2 separate regions of the Homo sapiens genome follow, and region 1 is linked to region 2. Evidence: promoter capture Hi-C in 16 types of primary human blood cells and fetal thymus (Javierre and others, 2016). All regions are on one chromosome and are shown on one strand. The core of a region is centred on a gene start or on the middle of the fragment in contact, and the rest is flanking DNA. Distances in the headings are between cores, read along the strand shown.

Region 1 (2,900 bases), core at 401-2,900, 80 kb before region 2:
GGCTGCCTGCGCCCTTCTGGCCTGGCCCCGGCCCCCATTGCTGTGTGTGGACGCGGTGAGGCGGAGTCCTGCTGCAGCGTGGGGGGATGTGACACTTGCCTCCCCACCCCCCAGGCCTGATGGTGAAACCGGAGTTTCCTGACAACTGAGAAGGCTCGCGGTGAAAAGCAGCCCGGTGCAGACAGGAGTGGGAGCGGGGAAGCGGGAGGCAGCGGGGTTAGCACCCGAGTAGCGCAGCGCAGCAGGCTTGGCAGAGCGGGGATAGCACCCAGGGAGACAGGGAACAGGAGGCCCAAGCTACAGCCACCACTGCTGGGTTGCGAGGGCAGAGCAGCTGAGCAGGCTCCAGGGCCCCAGAGTGCCCGAGGAAAGGGGAGAGACAGTGACGTTATGATCTGGGTCTCCGCCGTGGAGGCTTGGGGGGCTGTGGGCTGTGAGGCCTGGCAGTGAGAGTGCCCCCTGCAGCCTGGCCTCCTGCCAGGGAAGCAGCCAGGAGCACGAAACCTACTTGAAGGCCAAGCTCGAGGGGCCCTGCCACCAAGTCCCACTATCGGCCGAGGGCTCCTGCTGCACTAGGCTCCATGCTGGCCTGCCGCGGCCAGGCAGCTCTCCCAGGCTCCAGACCTGGCTGCCGGCTGCCCACGCTGCCCTGGGAGGCTTCACTCATGTGCACCCCATGCCATCTAGTTAGTGGCTTGGGCCCCAACCTCACAGGTACCCGACTGCCCCCACTTTCCCTGCCCGGCTCCCAGCCAACCGCAGGTCTCAGCCACTCCATCCTCAAAGTATGCCTCCTAATTTGGCTCTCACTGAAGCCCCGTGGCCGTCAAGCTTGCCAGAGAGCAACTTCAGCGCCCCCTTCCCCACCCCGGGCTCCCTGTCTCCATTCTGCAAACAGTAGCCAGGGAAACTGAGGTTACTGAGTCTTGCTCCCACCCTCAAAGCCCCCAAGGCCCTGCAATCAGTACTCCCCAGCCTCCCCCGCCCTGCGCACACACGCCTGTCACACACACATCGGATCCTACGGCCTGCTCTATAAAGCCATCTCGCTCCTGCCGCAAAACTCTAGCCACCCTCTCACCCTTTCCTTAGCCACCTCGCCCAAGTGCCAGGCCTGTAGCCTCTCATCAGCATCCCTGGGTGTCCCTGGCTGGGGCAGGTGACCCTCCATGCCTGTTGGGGAATGTCTGAATAACGTCACTGCTGGGGGATAGGGGAAGGGGGAAGGAGGGAGACGGGCCACAGAATGCACTTTGGGGCTCTGAGGCTGGGCCGGGCCCCGCCATGCTGGCCGCCCAAGCAGTCGACACTGGCGCTACTGCACTACCAGCCAGCCCCACCCGCTCATGCACCTCCCCCGGCCCGGGACGCAGAGGCCCCTGGAAGGTGGGGATGGGGGTCTGTGGATCTGGCCAGGGCTGGGGCTCCCATTGAGTTGGGGAGACCCCTTGTTCCCTCAGCCCACGCAGGAGCCCTTGTGCCTCCCTGGGTGCCAAGATCCCGAGACCCCAAAGTCCCCAGTGGGGTGCCTCTCAGGATGCACCTCACCCCAAAGCTCTCAGCTGCAACCCGAGTTCTCAGATGGGGAAATAAAGGCCCAGAGAGGGGAAGAGCTGGAGCGGTCATGCTCAGCTCCGGAAGCCTCCCTGGGCCCTCGCCCTCCAGCCCACGGCCTCATCTTCTGCACCCCACCCAACTCTGTCCCTGCCTAGAGCTGCAGCTGGAACTGTCCTGGGAATCGGCCCCAAGAGGAAAGGAAGCTGCCCCTCTGGGCAGGAGGGGCATTGGGAGTGGCCCCAGCAAGCAGCTTACCTAGCCCGTGACCTCCGATTGACACTGAGGTGAGAGGGCAGAGAGCAAGGAGAAAGGTCAGGTGAGTCACTCAAGGGGGCGGCCCCCACTCCCACACGCCGCCCCAAGCAGCGAGCCCTTGCACACAGGCACAACCCAAGCCCCGTGCCGAGCGCCGCAGCGGCCAACAGCGGGCGGGCTCACCTGTGACAGTGCACTTGCTGGCGTCCCCGGTGGGCACGGCACGCACGCGGTACGGGGAGAAGGGGATCTCGTCACCACCGTACTTGATGAGGATGGTGTAGCGACCTGTCACGTCTGGCACGTAGGCCACTGTATACGTGCCGTCATGGTTGTCTTGGATGTGTGTCTTCTTCGGCTTGCCTTCGGGATCCTGTGTGGCAGAGGCAGGGGAGGCAGTTGGCCCAAGCCCGAGTAGCCCCGGGCCTGCCTCAGGCGCTCCCAGAGTGCCCAGCGCTGCTGCTACAGGGACAGTCTCTGGGCCTCAGGCATCTTAACTGCTATGGCCCAAAAGGGCTGCCTGCACCTGGCAGAGTCCAGAATGGAGACTAAAACATCCCACACTTCCCACATGACAACAGGCGCGGCCAGCCAGCTTGGCACCCATCCTCAGCCCCAGGGCCTGGCCAGCACTAGGAGGAGCTCACCGGGGTGATCTCAAGCTTCTATCCTATACCTGCCCCATGAGAATATTACAGGTGGGGAAACTGAGGCACAGAAGGCTTTGGTGACGTGCTCAAAGTTAGCAGCAAGTGCACGTCTGGGGAAGCCTGTGCCTGTCACCACCATCCTAAGGTAGTCACAACCTTAGCAAACCAAAGACAGGGGCCCTGTCCTTCCCTGCCCTCCTTGGTGCAGCTCCGCAGGGAGATCAGACACCAGCCACCCGCAGCCCACACTCCAGCCGCCCAGGCCCCCCTGCCTCCCCTGCCTGTGCCCGGAGCTCACCGTGATCTGGACAGCCAGCAGGCCCTCCCCGGCGTCCTTTGCATCGATGGTGAACTCCACGGGCAGGCTGGCAGGCACGCCAGTGGTGTTGAGCCCGGGGCCACTGGCCTTCACCTTGCTGGCATCATGAGTAGGCAGCA
Region 2 (2,700 bases), core at 201-2,700:
GGGAGCAGTTCTCCTACGCCAGCGACTGTGCCAGCTTCTTCTCCCCCGGCATCTGGATGGGGCTGCTCACCTCCCTGTTCATGCTCTTCATCTTCACCTATGGCCTGCACATGATCCTCAGCCTCAAGACCATGGATCGCTTTGATGACCACAAGGGCCCCACTATTTCTTTGACCCAGATTGTGTGACCCTGTGCCAGTGGGGGGGTTGAGGGTGGGACGGTGTCCGTGTTGTTGCTTTCCCACCCTGCAGCGCACTGGACTGAAGAGCTTCCCTCTTCCTACTGCAGCATGAACTGCAAGCTCCCCTCAGCCCATCTTGCTCCCTCTTCAGCCCGCTGAGGAGCTTTCTTGGGCTGCCCCCATCTCTCCCAACAAGGTGTACATATTCTGCGTAGATGCTAGACCAACCAGCTTCCCAGGGTTCGTCGCTGTGAGGCGTAAGGGACATGAATTCTAGGGTCTCCTTTCTCCTTATTTATTCTTGTGGCTACATCATCCCTGGCTGTGGATAGTGCTTTTGTGTAGCAAATGCTCCCTCCTTAAGGTTATAGGGCTCCCTGAGTTTGGGAGTGTGGAAGTACTACTTAACTGTCTGTCCTGCTTGGCTGTCGTTATCGTTTTCTGGTGATGTTGTGCTAACAATAAGAAGTACACGGGTTTATTTCTGTGGCCTGAGAAGGAAGGGACCTCCACGACAGGTGGGCTGGGTGCGATCGCCGGCTGTTTGGCATGTTCCCACCGGGAGTGCCGGGCAGGAGCATGGGGTGCTTGGTTGTTTCCTTCCTAATAAAATAAACGCGGGTCGCCATGCGTTGGGCCTCTTGTCGCTCATTTCTGCGCTGGGCTTTAGGCGCGTGCTCGCCGGAGGGATGCGGGAGGATGGAGCCTGGCGAGGGGGAGGCGAAGAGGCATCCGCGGAGACCGGGAGGGGCTTTAGCAAGCTGGGCCCTAACCGCTCAGGGTAGGGAGGGGCGGTCGGGCCGAGTCCCGGTGCGCTTCGGCGTCTCAGGAGGCCGTCGTGACAATGGCAGCCTTCGCGTCGTGAGGGGGCCGCCCCAGGCTGCCGCAGCGGCGCGCGCCCGGCCGCGGGGCCGCGCCGAGACTCCCGGGGGGGTGGGCGGGGGTGGGGAGGTGGGCGGGCGCGCGCGGGGCGGGGCGGGGCGGGGCGCGGCGGGTGGGGCGGGGCGCGCGCGGCTCCCGCGCACGGATTCTTCCTGGGCCGCAGCACCGGCCGCCGGCCCGCCCCGCCCGCCCCGCCCCGCGCCTCTCTAGACTCTCGGCGAGCAGCGTCGCCCGCGGAGCCGCGCTGGTGCTGTGGCCCGGGCCCTGGCAGCCCTCCCGGGAGGCGAGCCGGGGAGGCGGTGGCCCCTGCCGGTTGCGGCGGGGCGCGGGAAGAGGCGGGACTCTTTGACGCGGCGGAGGGGTCGGGCGACGGCCGACGCGCCGCCATCTTTGGTCCAGTGCGGTGGCGGCGGCGGCGGTGGCGGCGGCGACTGCTGCGGTGAAGGAGGAGGAGGAGCCGAGCGGGCGCTGGCACCGAGGCCTGACCATGGACGAGGAATACGATGTGATCGTGCTGGGGACCGGTCTCACCGTAAGTGCGGCCCCGGCGCCCCTGGCCCTGCGTCGTGCCCTCGCCATCCCCCGCGATGATGCGGCCGCCGGCCCATCCTCTGGTCACTGCCATCTTCTGCGCTCCGCTCCCCGAAAAGCCGGCGCCGTGCCCACCCCGCTGCTCCCCCAGCGACGTCGCCTCTGCTCGTTGCCATGACCCCATCTCCCCGAAGAGGCCCCCTTCCTGGCCGCCTCCTGGGCTACCCGGGTCCGACCCCCGGCGCCCTCCCATCTTCCCTACCCCTGCCCGCTGGACCGGAAAACGCACCCCCACTCGGCCCGATGCCCACGACCCCGCCCACCCATCGCCCCCACCCATCACGGCATCCACCCGTCGCCCGCACCCATTGCCCGCCTAGCGTTGCCTCTCAGCGTCCGTTCCCATCTTGCGCTAATCCCGGTGGGGATGAAGTAGAAGGACCTGGGGTCAGGGGGCCTCGCCAGAGTGGGCCCTCAGCCCGCCTCCTCATCGTCTTCTGGGGCCAGGGGATCCAGGGAATGTTCCAGAAGGAACAGCAGTGGGGGCAGTAAGCACATTCCCGCAACCCCACCTCGGTTGCCCATGGAGACCTCAGGCTGGGTAGCATCTGCAGCCTTTGTCCTTGGGCTAGTGACAGTGACTGGTGAGGGTGTTTATCTTCCCCCTTTCCCCGAAAACCCCGTTGGCCTACTCCCCTCAGAGACTCTTCTTCCTCGGTCCAGGCCCAGATGCCCCTCCTCAGCGGCAGGGGCTCCTGCTATTTGAAGAAAGAGCAGTCCAGGGTGGGGCCTACAATTTCAAGGACTGTGCTAAGCCTTTCTTTTCCTCCCTTTCGAGTGTCCTTTGCAGTCCAGCTGGGTCTTCTCTGTGCCTTATTGTGTTTTATCCGCCTTTTTGTGCGGCTCTGCGTAGGTAGATGCCTCTCGGCGTGTTGGTACTGGAAGGCCATCCTGTGTCTGCTGGATGCCCTGCCTCCCTCAAAGCCTCCGTTATTTCACTCTCCGCCTTGTGAGGGGGACGGGACTCCTTTGCCCAGCAAGGTTGCAATGGAGAGTGTGGTCGGATGAAGCCATCACCCCAATTTTAGGCGAGGCAACTAGCCAG

The links. Contacts are between HindIII fragments. The CHiCAGO score rates a contact against its expected background, and 5 or more counts as called.
Region 1: a contact is called between a fragment that was not itself captured here and the fragment with the promoter of GDI1 in region 2, in 2 of 17 cell types (monocytes and activated CD4 T cells). The highest score is 8.3, in monocytes.

Annotation. Positions count from the first base shown.
Region 1 is chrX:154,355,439-154,358,338 of GRCh38, forward strand. FLNA (filamin A) reads right to left here. Exons shown (of 48, transcript NM_001110556.2): 28 at 2,761-2,900; 29 at 1,996-2,185; 30 at 1,813-1,836. Among named protein-coding and RNA genes, the nearest start is that of FLNA, 18 kb to the right of the region's middle. The HindIII fragment of the contact is 1,643 bases long and covers 830-2,472 here.
Region 2 is chrX:154,435,704-154,438,403 of GRCh38, forward strand. GDI1 (GDP dissociation inhibitor 1) reads left to right here and starts at 1,451. Exons shown (of 11, transcript NM_001493.3): 1 at 1,451-1,596. The coding sequence starts at 1,552. It overlaps ATP6AP1 (ATPase H+ transporting accessory protein 1), which reads left to right. Exons shown (of 10, transcript NM_001183.6): 10 at 1-813. The coding sequence ends at 188. RefSeq lists an enhancer at 983-1,483. The HindIII fragment of the contact is 14,364 bases long and covers 1-2,700 here.